Regions from separate parts of the Homo sapiens genome. Here region 2 is linked to region 1. The links are contacts of gene promoters, found by promoter capture Hi-C in blood cells and fetal thymus (Javierre and others, 2016). All regions are on one chromosome and are shown on one strand. Each heading gives the region's core, a stretch centred on a gene start or on the middle of the fragment in contact. The rest is flanking DNA. Distances are from core to core; before and after follow the strand shown.

Region 1 (7,560 bases), core at 1,750-4,249:
TTCTAGCAAAGTAGCATATCTCCTGTCCAAAGTTTTCAAGCATTTTATCTTTTGTCCTGTCTTCACATTTGTTACTATTGCAACTGCTACTGGTCTAAACAGGGCCCTCTCTCACTGGGATGTGAAGTCCAGGGCTTGACATACTTCGTTCTCCTTGGGCAAGGTCTGGGGGGTGTTTGGTTGATTTTGCTCTCACCTGGATGTTCTCTGTTTGGGGCTTTGCATTCTCACATTCCAAGGCATCTCTTGAGTGTTCTGCTGCCGCCTGAAACTCAACATATCAGAAACAGGCTAAGTATTTCCTAAACAGGCCTGTCACTTCTTTTCATAATTTTTCCGACTTTCCTCATTTCTGCTATTTGTGTGTAACTCAGAAATTGACTGGTTGCCCTCACACATGTTAATACTGTTTCCTCAAGCACATGTCGCAAGCTACCTTTGATCTGACATGCTCTCCATTGCCACAGCAACAGCCCACTGATGTTCTCCAACCTCCATGAACAAGTGATCCTAAATCATCTGATCCCAAATATCCAGGGATCCTCGTCATGACCCTTGAGAGTATCCGTGTCCAGAGAGAGGCCTGAGGTCCTCAGCTACCATCTCTTTGGTGCAGTTCCAGGAGCTATGCACAAGTAATGGGGAAAGGTACTGGCTTTGTCTTGTGTAAATCACACCATCTTTCACAGAAAGCATGGAGGCCCAGAACAAGGGACAGAAGGAGAAGAAAAGGATTGAATAAAGAAAATAAATTGGTTCATTGTTTGGGTTAGATTTCTGTATACCCATCTTCCCACTTGTTGGGAATTGGGAGTATGAGGATAAAGAAACTAACACTTAAACACTACTTACTATATGCCAATCATTTTGTGTGTTATATTTCATTTAATCCCAGAATAAATCCATAAGATAGATATTATCATTATATTTTTTATACTAATGAGGAAACTGAGGCCCAAAATGCTAGGCAACTGGTCTGAGGATCCACAGCCACTAAGGGGGAAAAGCTGGGTTTGCTGCTGGCAGGTCTCTTCCTCTGAGACTGAGCTCCTCTCATGAAGGGATGAGTGCCATTCTATTCTGTGCAAAATTTCCCTGACTTCTTAGCTTATTTGATCTGGAGAGACACGGTTGGGGGGGTATGCTGACTAGATGATAACTGGGTGTTGGGGTGACAATGAAAATTAGATACCAATATATACAAGACTTTTGAATACGTTAACGGAAACATTTTATTTAATTATTTTAATGAATTTATTTTTAAGACTGGGTCTTGCTATGTTGTTCAGGCTGCCCTCAAACTCCTGGGCTCAAGCAATCCTCCTGCCTCAGCCTCCTGAGTAGCTGGGACTACAGGTGCATGCCACTGCACTTGGTTCAAGGGAGACCTTTTAAATCATCATAGAAATAAAGATGTTGGGCAAACTGATCAACTATTTGGAAAAAAATTTACATCTGACACCATATATTGAATATATGTTGCCAAATGTAAAATAACAAAATCAAAACTTATGTGAGTTGATTTGTCTTATCTTAGGAAGAGCAAAGAATTTTAAGCATGAATGCAATGGCAGAAACCAAAAAGCTTTCTAGATTTAAAATCGAATTTTCTTTAAAATAAATAAAAAACCATAAGAAGTCCAAATAGCATAAGATGTGTGCACCTTGGAAAAAGGTTTTTTTTCTTACATAAAACAAAATTTTAAAGTAAAAAAATTTTTTTAAAGTTTTTTTGCACTTATTCAGTGCACGTGATATGCCAGAAACAATGCCAGGAACCAGGAATTCAAAGATAAATAAGAAACAATCACTACATTTGAGCATCTCATATCTAGTAATAAAAATAGTAATTTATATAATTGTTAGAACAATGCTAGAGTAGAAGATTGACAAGGGGCTGTGACAACCCAGGGTAGAGAAGTCTCAGACAACATGATTCTTAGGAAGGGACATGAGATATTCCACAGGACCACCAATCCTCTTTTCGGCAAGTGGTCAAAAGTGGGCTACCATTTTTTCCTGTGTTCCACTCTCCAGTAGCATGAACTGAGACCAGGGATTCCAAACATAACCCTGTGAAGACCCCCTCTGGCTCGCTTACTCTCTCTAGATCACCCCACTTTATACCCTAGAGATTACCTTGTCTGTGGTGGCACTATTTTGGTGGCACGGCTTTGATATTAAGGAAGATGATGGTCAGAAAAAGAAAGCAGAAAATATCTTCTAATTTTGAACCCTACTTTATGTCAGGCACTATGCTAGCACAATACACACTAGAACTCTCTAAGGTAGATATTGTATTATTATTTCTACTTAAAATAAAGAGGCTGAGGTCCAGAAAGTAAATCTGAGTTCTGTGCCTATTTAATCTAGATGACCTCTGCTTACCTGCTTGCAGGGAGTGCACATCAAAGGAAGACTCAAGGTGGCAGGAAGCTTGCTGTTTATTTCAAACTTAAAATAGTGGCTGAAAGAGGGTGGTGATTTTGACCTCCTTGTGGAGCATGAGGAGCTCAGGAGAGCATCTCCTTCCCGGGCTTTCAGAAAGTTGTTTCATTTCTTAGGTGGTAACCTATTATATAGACCTTCCTTGGTAAAGTCTTTCCACCTTTCAGCTATTCTCCATCAGCTGCTCACCATGATTCTTGGGAGAAGGCAAAACCTATGGGAAATTTAATGTGGTATCTGGCACAGAGTAGGCACTGAAGGCTTGGCAGTTTCCTTACCCAACTACTTTCTACCCCAACTTAGTGTGCTAACTGTATACTAGCTTTCTTTTTCTCTTCCTTGCTGTATTGTCCTGTCCCATCTCCTCTGCTCTCCCACAGGGAGTCTAGACTTACCTGTTTTCTCTCAGCAGAGAATTTCCCATCCTCTCAGTCCTCTCAGGGCTTCCCCTCCGTCCCTTTACCACTTCCTTCTTGCCTTGTGCTCTGACAGGGCAACTCCTGACTTAAAGAAAGGGCTGTGTGGCTCTGGCCACCCGTGCAGAGACAGCAGAAAGGAGAAGGGTGTCTCTGCAGAGGGAAGGAAGAGGCTGGGGGAGGAGTGTTAGAGGCACGCATGTGCAGAATGTCCTAACATGTCAGTGCCTGAACCAACCTGGCTGTTGGCCATAACCAGCAACTACCCGTCAATGAGAGCTTCGAACCTCTGGGGAATCCCAGGTCTGAAATTACAGATGGGCCATGGGAGTTTTTCCACTACAGATATTTACGTTTATAAATCACGTTGTCTTCTTAGAAAAGTCAGAAGGAGGTTAAAACAGTCAAGCCACAGACCTGTAGAAAATATAGTATCAACAACTCTCAAATCTGAAAACAAACACCCAGTAACAAAATGGGCAAAATATTTGAACAGACATTTCACCAAAGGAACTATACAGATGAACATTAAAAGATGCTAAACATTGTAGTTATTAGGGAAGTGTAAATCAAATCCACAATGGAACACTTTTACATACTTATTACAATGGCTATAAAACCCTGACAATATCAAGTATGGCAAGGTATGCAAAGCAACTGGAAGTCTCATGCATTGCTGATGAGAATGCAAAATGACAGCCTTTTTGGAAAGAAGTGATAAGGACAGAAGGCAGGGCTTTACTGGGTAGAAGAGGGTGGTTCACTGGCAAAGGTCCCACCCTCAAGCCTTGAAACCGAAGCCCTAAATGAGAACAGTTATCCCTGTTATCCTGCCCAAATGTTACTCTTTAGCCTGTCCAGCCCCCCTATCCCGTGCCCATATAAACCCCAGACCTCAGCTGGCAGACAGACAAGCGGCTGAACATCAAGAGGAGAAGAAGCAACTGAGTGTCAGAGATGTGGCTTAACTTCAGGTGGCATGACTTCAGGGAGGAGCCCGGCCAGAGACAGCAGACTTCAGGGAAAGGTCACTTTCTTCCTGCACCATCCCCTTTGCAGCTCCCCTTCCACTGAGAGCCACTTCCACCATTTAATAAAATCGTCCACATCCATCAACTTTCAAACCATTCATGCAACCTGATTCTTCCTGGATGCTGAACAAGAACCTGGGTACCAACAGGGCAGGGTGTAAAAGGCTGCCACCCTGACTCTCCATTGAGTGGGTTAACACTTAGCTGTCCACGGATGGCAACTGCTAAAAGAGCATGAATTGTAACACATCCCTAAATGCTGCTGTTGGGCTGGAGCCCAAAAGTGCTCATCGAAGCCCTGGCACCCGCTTGCCTGCGTGCTCCCGCTCCCACAGAGAGTTTGAGCATGGTGGTGGCCAAGTAAGTAGGCCACACCCCTGTCGCAAGTCCCGAGAAGGGGTCAAGGGAACTCTCCCATCTCAGAAGTATGGCAATTTCTTATAAAATTGAACATAGGGTTACTGTACAACCTGGCAATTTCACTCCTAGGCATTTAGCCAAGTGAAACTTATGTCCTCTAAGACTGTGTGTACAAATTTTTATATGTGCTTTACTCATAATAGCCGAAATACCCTGGAAATAGCCCAACTGATCTTCATTGAGTGAATTGCTAAATAAGCTCTGTGTTATATTACATCCACACAACAGAATCCTGACCATCATTGAAAAGGAGTGGACTATTAATACATGCAATAACTTGGATCAATCTCAAATGCATTACACTAAGTGAAAGAGACCAGACTTAAAGCCTACCTTCTGTGACATTAGAGATAAGGTGAAACCACAGGAACAGAAAACATATTAGTGTTGCCAGGAGCAAAAGGTGGGGGAGGTGTTGACTTTCAAAGCACAGGAGGAAATTTTTTGTTGTTGTTCTTTATCTTGATTGTGTTAGTGCCCACATGACTGTATGCATTTCTCATAATTCACAGAACTGTATACTAATAAGGGTGCACTTCACTGCACATAAATGAATCTCAACAGACAAAAGGTTAAAAAAGAAAGAAATCTCGGGACAGGAATCATGGATTTTTGTATTATCCTTGTATTTGATGGTTGTTTCCAGTTTGGTCACTCATCTGTTTGTTCATTCCTTTAACAAGTATGTGTCGAGTGCCTACTATGTGCTGGGCACTGTAGGTTCAATGGTAAGAAAAGCAGATACAGGACTGCTCTTGTGAAGTTCCTTGAAAGAAATAAAACAAAGTGCAAAATATTTTATTGCTTGTCCTTGAGTAATGTAAAGGTCATATCTAAAACAGGCAGGAGAAGGATGGGGAGTGGGCTTAGAAGAAACAATTTCAGAGAAACTAGGGTACTAGCTGTGCAACCCCAGATTCATCTCACATCATTCTTATCCTTATGGCTGCTCTCCAAACTTCCTTTTGGCTCTGTGAGGGATTTCCAGGAGCACCTTATTAAAAATGGAAGATTTTATTATAAAAGATAAGCCATTATTGATCATTCACTTTTCTAAAAAAACACAAATGTGAGAATAAAATAAAAACACACAAGACTCACTAGCCCCTGCAAGACAGAAAGCAGCCCTGGACAGAGAGCCTCCTTATTATATACCTAATGCCTGAACTCACACATTCTAGGGTTTCATGTTTTGTTACCTCTTGCAAAGGATAGGAAACTGGCTAGAAAATTCATGTAAAGGAAGGTCACAACTTTAAAGCTATCTGACGCTAATGACTTGTATAATCTAGTTTGCAGCTCTGAGAGACAATATCAAATAAGCATTGTCAAATACTACTCCCACCTAACCTTTGCTGTCATTGTTCTTTGAAATTATCTTTGGGATTGGTTATGTTCTCTCACTGTAGCTTTCGTTTATCTCAGAGCACACACCCTAATGTCCATGTGCAGTCTCCATGCTCAAGTATTCCAGAATACAATTTTCTGGAGTCTAACTTCAGTTGACACCTGACTCCAAATTGCAAATCTACCTCCAACCAAAAAGAAATGAGAAATTAGTTTTTAAGGGCAATTAGCAAATATATTACAAAAATAATTTCAGATAAACGCTATGTGACAAATGGTGCTGTCAAGTCCTCTTATGTGAATACTAGTCATTGTTTGTCTTGAGAAAATGTGTGCAGTGGAGGATATCTTCTTGGCATATAAAAGGGGAAGATTTCTTTCTGTTTTAGTAATCTCTTTAGGGGATTGCCTGTGGTGTGCATTACATTCTGGTTGAATATTCAGAAATAAAAGTGTTTTCTTTCTCTTCTATTTTTGTGGTGAGGTTTTCTGAAATAGCAGGAGATTTTGCTTTTAATTCTATTTCCCCAATAGTAGCTCCATTAATTTTTTTCATGAATCCCTCATGTAATTGACTCTAGGAAAGATGTTAGGGTGGTAAATTTTCTTATTCTGTAAATATTTGAAATTCAGGAAAACCCTCCCATCAATAAATTAAATGAAGCATTGAAGTAAAAAAGAATATTCTTAACAAAGCTTATATTGAAAATCAGGTTTCCACAGCATATAGATCTAAGAAACCTGGGGGTACCCTTGTCTGTTTCTCCTATTCTCCTCTTTCAAAACCATTTCCTTTCCCAGGCTGGATAATTACAATAAAAAATAGAGTATGTGTTCCAAATTATTGAATGCTTCTTCCTTGTGTATGGAAAATCTGGGATGACAACCAGTGGTCTGCCATTTTGTGTACGAGAAAAAGAGGTATGTATGTGTGGGAGTCGGAAGGAATCTTGGTATACTATTATAACTAACCTCTCTCTTCCCTATTACCTTCAGAAAAAAAGAAAAACAATCAATCTAACCTAAAAGTGCCCCTTCCTCAGTGGCCTCAGCACATTTTGCACTACCTAGAGGCTAGCAGCAGGGGACCAGAATGTCTTAGCATTGTGAAAGAGAGACCACATGGACAGGGTGCTTAGCCAGTGAGTAGGGCTATTGTTGACTTCCCACCAGTATGAATGAACAGATCCTAGACCCTAGTTGGGGCAGCCTGAGCAGACACAGCCTGGATGCTGCTCCATGTGTGGCTTAATTAGTTCCACTATTGTCTAAAAGAGTCTTTGAGTCCAGAGAGCCATGGTAGGGTGAGTTGGAAATCAATCTGCCCATTGTAATTTAGGGGAAGGTTAGGAATTGCTTTCAAGCTTCTGTTTTACTCAGGCCGCTAGATGGAGAAGCTGAGCTGTGGAAGTGTTAGCTATCAATCACTTGTGTAAAGTAGCATGAAAGAGCAGGATATTTATAATAGATTTACTGCTGTAAAACTGACTCTGGACTATAAATAATATATCTCCTCTCCGTAAATGAGTAGAGCAACACACCCCCACACAAAGAAGCCCAGATAACAAATCTTTGAATCATAGATTCACTCTTTATTCTTCTCAGTGTTTAACTCCAGTGCCTAACACGTGTAAGAAACTACATTTCTAACACATGTAAGAAACCGTATGTGTTGAATTGGAAATAAAAGCCTGGATATTTGTAAGCAGATGATAGGGAAATCAGAGAACGTTTGGGTTGAGATCTTTAAATTTACTTTCCTATCCTTTGGCATTGCTGTAAAGAATTAATGACCAATGACTGTTTTGCTATATCCTTTGAAGATCATAGAAAAGTATAATTACAATAAGTATTTGTTGAGAGCTTTCTAATAATCCAGTAATTCTGTTAAATGCTTT
Region 2 (7,495 bases), core at 201-2,700, 1.4 Mb after region 1:
TTAAAGTCATTCAAATTCTGGATGAAATTATTTCGTTATGCTCCTCAAAAACAGTGAGTTCTATTTGAAGTTTTACCCCCAGACTCTCCTTTGAATTAGTATTTTTGCCCATATACCCATATATTTTCAAGAAATTTCTTTCTTTCCTTCCTTCCTTCCTTCCTTCCTTTCTTCCTTCCTTCTTCCTTCCTTCCTTTCTTCCTTTTGAGATAGGGTCCTGCTCTGTCATCCAAGCTGGGGTGCAGTGGGGTGTTCACGGCTCATTGCAGCCTCGACCTCCCGGACTCAAGCAGTCCTCCCAACTCAACTCCCAAGTAGCTAGGACGACAGGCATGCACCACCACGCCCAGCTATTTTTGTATTTTTTGTAGAGATGGGGTTTCATCATGTTGCCCAGACTTGTCATGAACACATGGCCTCAAGCTAGCCCACCTCCCACTTCAGCCTCCCAAAGTGCTGGGATTACAGGCATGAGCCACTGCACCTGGCCAAGAACATTCAAAACTTTAAAACTGAAAATTGTCCTAATAAGGAGTCTACTAACTTAATCTTCCATCAGCATTGTTTTCTGATTTCACAGAAAACTTTACAACAAATGTATTGCATTCATTCTTGATGTTTTAAGAAATTAAAGGAATTAGACAAGGTAAAAACAAAAACAAATCTATCTCTTTAAAGATGGCAAGGACTAGGATTTTAATCTGTAATCTTAAATTTTTGAAAAAGATCTTTTCCTTCTTAATGACTTCTTTTTAAATGGTCCTTCAGGTTGAACACAATTACATTCTTTTATAGTATACAGTAATGAAGCTGAAATAAAACAGTGAGTTCTCTTCCACACGTAAATTGTGATTGTTCAATGTTCTGCAAGGTCTTCTGATGGCCCCATTCTCACCCTGCTCCTTACCTGCCTCTTTAACTCTTTAAATCTAATCCCCTAATTTTTATCAGAAAAGTATTTCCTTTTTACGATAGGCTGTGGTTTCTGCCTTTAAAAAAACAATCCTGGGGTTTCTCTCAGAATCTGGAAGAAGTCATTGCAATGGTAAAGTAGGTAAGAGGCTGGGGTGGAAAGAAATGCCTTCTGCATAAATCTAGTTAGTCTGAGTCGTTTTTTGACAACTTCCGGGACCAGACTTCAGGCAGTGCTGGAAATTGTTCTCTTTACCATATCTTTTTTTTTTTAACTGTACATATTTACATACATACACATATGGTGAGGGAGAGAACGTGATGACGTGAGACTCTCCATGGAGAGTAGGAGGTAATAAAGAAATAAAACAGGTGTCTGAGGAGAGGTTCTATTAGAGAGGGGAGAATAGAGAGTAATTATCGTTCAGACAGGCAAGAGTTCTCTGCAGGTAGCAGCCTGGGAAAGCGAACTCGCGCACCCTCTTGGGGGACGGGCTCTTTTGCTTTCTATTTCTTCTCCTGCAGCCAGGGTGCACACGTATTTGAAACAGACCGAATTTCCTCCTCGATGTGGCGTCAGGTTGACTTTTCGAGACTAGCGGGTATTTCTTTTTAATGACTCCAATGCCTTTTTATTATTGCTGTTATTGAGGTTGAGGGAGAAGAGATCGGTCTAAATTCTGGCTGGGTAAGTGGGGGGATTCTCGGCGATGAGAAACGGGGGACTTAGAAGCCGGAGGAAAATCAGCAGCCCCACATCTCCACTTCTCCAGTCCGCCCTACTCTCCACCCGTGACCTCCAGTGGAGACCCCAGGCGGCAGCATCAGTATTTGATCGGCCCTTCGTCAGCACGCTGCCAGCCCTGGCCGGCTGGGTTCGCCAGGCATCACCCGCTCGGCTCTGAAGCGGACGCCTGGCCCTGCACCGGGCTTTGGAAGGACCCTCTCTGCGCTCGCCCCCTCCCCAGGGTGGCTCCGCTTTCGAGCCCGGGCGCGGTGCCCACCATGCGCGGCTGCCTGCGGCTCGCGCTGCTCTGCGCGCTGCCCTGGCTCCTGCTGGCGGCGTCGCCCGGGCACCCGGCGAAATCCCCCAGGCAGCCCCCGGCACCGCGCCGCGACCCCTTCGACGCTGCCAGGGGCGCCGATTTCGATCATGTCTACAGCGGGGTGGTGAACCTCAGCACCGAGAACATCTACTCTTTCAACTACACCAGCCAGCCCGACCAGGTAAGACACTCGCTCCCCTCGCTCGACTCCTAGAACTTGCCAGATCTCAGAGCCCCGTCGCTGCTTTGGAGTCCCCTGGGAATTGACCTTGGGAGACTTCGGGGACCAGGGGACTTTCTTTCCCTTTCTCCTCCGAAGCAATCGCTGCCCTGCCCTAGCTGCCTCAACACGCCTCGGGGACAACTCTGCTTCGCCTCGCGCCTCTCCTGGCCTGGTCAAGGGCATTGCTGGGCTTTGCAGAGGCACCAGTTCCCCGCACCGTCTGCGGGTCCTGGGTCCCTGCTGGGTCTTTCTCCAGGAAAGTCCTGATTTCTAGGGTTGCGGGGTGTGGTGTGGAGTGCGAAGAAGAACCGCACCTCGGTTCCTAATCCCCTGCAGGGAAGAAACCTAATTTCAAGTGGCTGATTCAGCCAGACCCTTCTATTTCATAGCGCATGGGGAGGGAGAACTGCTCAGAATCTAAAATGGAAATTGTGTGAAAATGGACGGAAGCTGCAGAACCTCTGTGCATTCAACAGTCACTTCCTGCGTTTTTGTGCCATTGTCACACGTTGTGCTTCAGAGACGCCAGAAGACCTGGGCAAAGACGTGAGAACTGCAGCCATCAGCTGATCAATCCAGGTTTTGATTTTAAATAAGGATGGATAATTGTGTGAAAGTTCTAGACCTATTTTTGACAAAAGTTGAGGGAAGATAAGGAGGGAAAAATGTTCCAGTGACTATCCCTTTGACATATATACTCCGATTATATAACGTAAGAAGATGCATATAGTTCATTTCTTTCCTCTAGTGTGGTACCTCTGGAGCACTGGGCGGGGAGAGAGAGGGAGACAGAGAGAGAAAGAGAGAAAGAGAGACAGAGACAGAGACAGAGACTCCCCAGTGTACCAACCTCTGGATCTTCTTCCCATATAAATGTGTTTATGTATCCCTTACTATACCAGCATCCCCTACCCTCTAGGGAAATTCCAGAACTAGATGATTGGGATACCATGATATGCCTCCGTCTGATTCTCACTCCAGATCGGAACTAGAAAACCTCATCACTTCCCAAAGTGAGGGTGGTTTGTATTGAGCAGGGGGGACCAATGTGCCTAACACTGCTCCTAGACATCTTCCAGCTGTGTGTAGCCAGAAAGTGCCCTGAGTGCCCCATCTCCAGTGTGGCACCAAATCCTATGGCACTGTTACCATGGCAGCACAGCCCTCACCCTGCTCTGTCCTCCAGTAACCTTCAGGTTATATGTTCTGTAGTGAGCAGAGTGGCTGTATGCAGAGCCATTTCATGGTAGACAAGGGAGAGGCTGCAGTTTTTGTTTCCCAAACGCCATATACCCAGCCTCTTTCTATCTAGCGTGGGAGAACTCATCGACTGGTTGACATGTTGCACGTGAGGTGTGTTCCTAGTCCTGTGATTGGCTGGGAGCAGAAAAAAGTCTGAAAACTCCATGATCTCTGGAGTAAGTCTCAGCTTCCCCCTAAATCATTGGTAAGAAAACTCAAATTACATGTGCTAAGTAAATCCTGACATCAGGCTTTGGTATTTCTTGCAGTTCTGCATAGAGATAGAGCATCTACTTATGAATTGTTGCCTTTACATTTTCCCCTTGTACTGTGTGAGTTTTGCACTTGAGATCACCTGGTTGACTTCCCTAGTAAACCTTGAGATATTGAGGGCAGGGGCAAAGTCATGTTCATCTCTGCCCTCCAGTACCTAGCACAGTGAATGGCACATAAGAGGTTTATAAGCCAGGCATGATGGCTCACACCTGTAATCCCAGCACTCTGGAGGACAAAGTGGGAGGATTGCTTGAGACCAGGAGTTCAAGACCAGCCTGGAAAACATAATGAGACCCTCTCTCTACAAAAAATTAAAAAATTAGCTGGGTGTGATGGCACATGCGCCTGTAGTCCCAGCTACTTAGGAGGCGGAGGCAGGAGGATCACTTGAGCCCAGGAATTTGAGGCTGCAGTGAGCTGAGCTCTTGCCACTGTACTCCCACTGGGGACAGAGTGATACCCTGTTTTTTCAAAATGTTTTTTTTTTTAAAGAAAAGAGAGGCTTATAAAAAACATTTAGTGTTTTCCAAAAATGAACAAATAAGTGAATAAAGGGTTATTAGCTAAGGCTAAATAAAATGAAATGTATACTGTTTTCAATTCAATAGTTTGGAAAATGTGAGATCATTTCAGATAAAAACATAAAAACAAATTTCTTTCATAAAACAAATTTGGTTTTTATAAAAACACATTTTAAAAATTGTTCTATTATGCCCTATTTTGTCTGTGTGTGTTAACATGTCCTTTATTTTATGAAACAGTTTTGAAAATATTTTTGAATGACACAGTAAAAGGTTGATGACCCAAGCAGTCCCTAGAATTTTTGTTAAAATATTACTAGTCTGAGAAATACAAAGTTGGGAACCATGGGAACAGGAGATAACAAGAATTTCAATTATTTTAGTGCCAGTATTCTCAATATAAGCCAAATGTCCTCAAATCTTACAGCCTTCTGGGACCAATCTTTAATATGCAAATGCTGTAGTGGAGCCCTCAAAAGCCACTTATTGTGGGAAATTAACCTCCTGTCCTACCAGCCAGTATTCCTGTTGCTTTCTCCAGAGAAGACATTTTCTTGATCTGTCTGTCCAAACCATTACCTTCGGTTCCTACTCTCTTCTTAGTTCTTCTTATCCTGCATAAGATATCAGCAGCCCCTTCTTGCAGGTACACAAGGCTGTTGGATGTAGCAGAATTTTACTGAAGGTTTGGAATAACATAGAGGAATGACATCACAGCACAAGATAGGTGATAGATTAAATCAGAAACCTAGGCCATACTGTTCCGACAATTTACCACCAGGGGGATTTCAAGATAGCGACGCTCTCTTTCAGGCGCTGGTTTGTCACTATCTTCTTGGCCATCCCCTCATACCTCCTCAAATGCTGACCCCCACCCACTAAATTTTTGTTACTCTCCCATGTTGTGCAATTTTTGCCATCATTGCTTATCCTACACTCACTAAGAGGCTCTGTTAAATAGAGATGTATGACCCCAGACCTACGATCTTTAGAGCAGAAGCTTGGACATGACTGGTTTCCCTTTAACCTGAACAAAGTCTTGATAAGGTAAGTCTTTCTAGCCTGCAGGGTCATTGCCCACCTCCCCTCTTCAGTGCAACAAAGAATTTGGTTTAGGGAAAAAAATGGCTAGTTTTTGAGCTTTAATCTTTGTTTTCCTCTTTCTTCAAGCCATTGTTGCTTGACATTATTTTTCCTGTGCCTTGGAGGAGAAAGTCTATTCTAAGTTTAGGCTTAAAGACAGGAAGCTGTTGTGGGAGCCATTGCTCCTAATCTTTCCTGTCAGCCACTGCATCTCCCATACCAAACTGTCCCAGAGAACTATTTTGCCAAGCTTGTGTCATACTAGTTAGCTGCACTCAGCACCAGGAAAAGTCTCATATGCCTTCCAGGCATAGGGTAATGTAAATATGAAGTTGCCTTCAAAAAAATCACTGAGAGAATGGAATGACTGCTTCAAATAAGAATGATGAAAATAATAATTGGAGGTGCAAGTTAGGCAAGATCATGATTCATTTCATTTCTCTGGAAGGAAGTGTCTGGAGACTCTCTTTAAGAGGAGGAGGGCTATACTGTGCAAACAGGGTGTTCTATAACCACAGGGCTCAGCCAGGCTAGAAGGAAACTAACTTGTTGGGAAAGTTGCCAGGGATATGTTTGACTGGGACAGAAGGCACAAATGCAGGTTTACTGGGAAATGAGAATACTCTTGTAGAGACAGTTGGCAGCAACAATCAGATGTTTCTATTTGAGCTAGATGGTGATAAGAAACCCTTAAATAAAATCTAACCACTGGGCAACAGGCTGTCTTCTCTGAGGTTTTCCTGTAAGAATTTAGTTTGCCATAGATTTTTTAATTTGAAATATCTCCCTGGAAGTATTTCTTTTATCTCATTTATTAACTAAGGCATTTATCTTTTAATGACATATATTATACTTTTCCATGCCCAAGGAACAACCCTCATCTTCATTAATATAAACCAGTAGTTGTATACCTAGAACCAGTTAAACCAGTCTCTTGGATCCAGATTCAAAAAGCCTACCCAGTCCTTAAGAACAATGAAATGCCCATGTGGACACTCCAGTGGTAACCTCTAGCTATATGCATTACTAATTATATGGAAGAATTTAAAACTTTGATATGATGGCCTGAGTTCTCCATGTCTCATATAGGAATGCTTACTCTTTATGTACTGAGGCCAAGAAGCCTCCTCTGCTGTCCTCCCACATCCTTTTGCTGAACTGCACTAGTGCTTGTTGGAGGAAAGACTCATCTCATTAGCACATTATCTGAATGATTGGACTGTCTCAGTCCACCTTGGCGGATATAACCGACCACCATTGGCTAATCTCATGTCTGGTGAGGCCCTGCTTCCTGGTTTGTAGACAAGCTCCTTCTTGCTGTGTCCTCACGTGGCCAAGAGAGCAAAGAGAGAAGAATAGTCTTTCACGTGTCCTCTTCTTCTTTTTTCTTTTCGAGACATAGTCTCGCTGTGTCACCCAGGCTGGAGTGCAGTGGCACGATCTCGGCTCATTGCAACCTCTGCCTCCCAGGTTCAAGTGATTCTAGTGCCTCAGCCTTGCTAGTAGCTGGGATTACAGGCATCCACTATCAAGCCTGGTTCATTTTTATATTTTTAGGAGATACAGGGTTACTCCATGTTGGCTAGGCTGGTCTCAAACTCCTGGCCTCACGTGATCCACCCACCTCAGCCTCCCAAAGTGCTGGAATTACAGGCATGAGCCACTGTGCCTGGCCTCATGCGTCTTCTTATAAGGGCAGCAATCCCTCCATGAACACTCCTGTGACCCAATTACTTTCCAAAGGCCCTATTTTCAAATCCATCCTATTGGGGATTAAGTTTCAACATGTGAATTTTGGTGGGGACACAAACATTCAATCCGTAGCAATCACCTCCTACATTTTTCTCAGAGACTGTGAAAACAGGGCATCAGTGTGTGTCATGGGTTGTTTAGGAGATAACATTACTCCAGTTATGGGTCTGATGTTATGGAGGAGCTGCCTTCTGCCTACGCAGACTTGATAATCAGGTGGTAAGTTGTGTGATGGATTCTGTAAGCCTGTGCTGTCCAGTGGCTATTGAGAACTTGAAATGTGACTAGTCTGAATGGAAATGTGCTGTTAAACATAGAATACATACCGGATATTGAAGACCATACAACAAAAATAATAGAAAATGTGTCGTTAGTATTTGTATGTTGTGTTTAAGTGATAATACTTTTGATGTATTAAATTAACTATAGTCATAAAATTA

Evidence for each region. Contacts are between HindIII fragments. The CHiCAGO score rates a contact against its expected background, and 5 or more counts as called.
Region 2: a contact is called between the fragment with the promoter of SIDT1 here and the fragment with the promoter of GCSAM in region 1, in 1 of 17 cell types (activated CD4 T cells). The highest score is 5.2, in activated CD4 T cells.

The regions. Positions count from the first base shown.
Region 1 is chr3:112,130,249-112,137,808 of GRCh38, forward strand. GCSAM (germinal center associated signaling and motility) reads right to left here and starts at 3,000. Exons shown (of 6, transcript NM_152785.5): 1 at 2,844-3,000; 2 at 197-265. The coding sequence starts at 2,872. It overlaps TBILA (TGF-beta induced lncRNA), which reads left to right and starts at 3,175. Exons shown (of 1, transcript NR_157393.1): 1 at 3,175-5,111. It also overlaps a transcript of C3orf52 not described here. RefSeq lists enhancers at 2,606-2,665, 3,146-3,325, 6,320-6,839, 6,840-7,358. The HindIII fragment of the contact is 3,922 bases long and covers 2,435-6,356 here.
Region 2 is chr3:113,531,105-113,538,599 of GRCh38, forward strand. It overlaps SIDT1 (SID1 transmembrane family member 1), which reads left to right and starts at 1,451. Exons shown (of 25, transcript NM_017699.3): 1 at 1,451-2,139. The coding sequence starts at 1,918. RefSeq lists enhancers at 843-1,062, 1,083-1,272, 1,413-1,742, 2,213-2,342 and a silencer at 2,013-2,062. The HindIII fragment of the contact is 7,487 bases long and covers 1-5,218 here.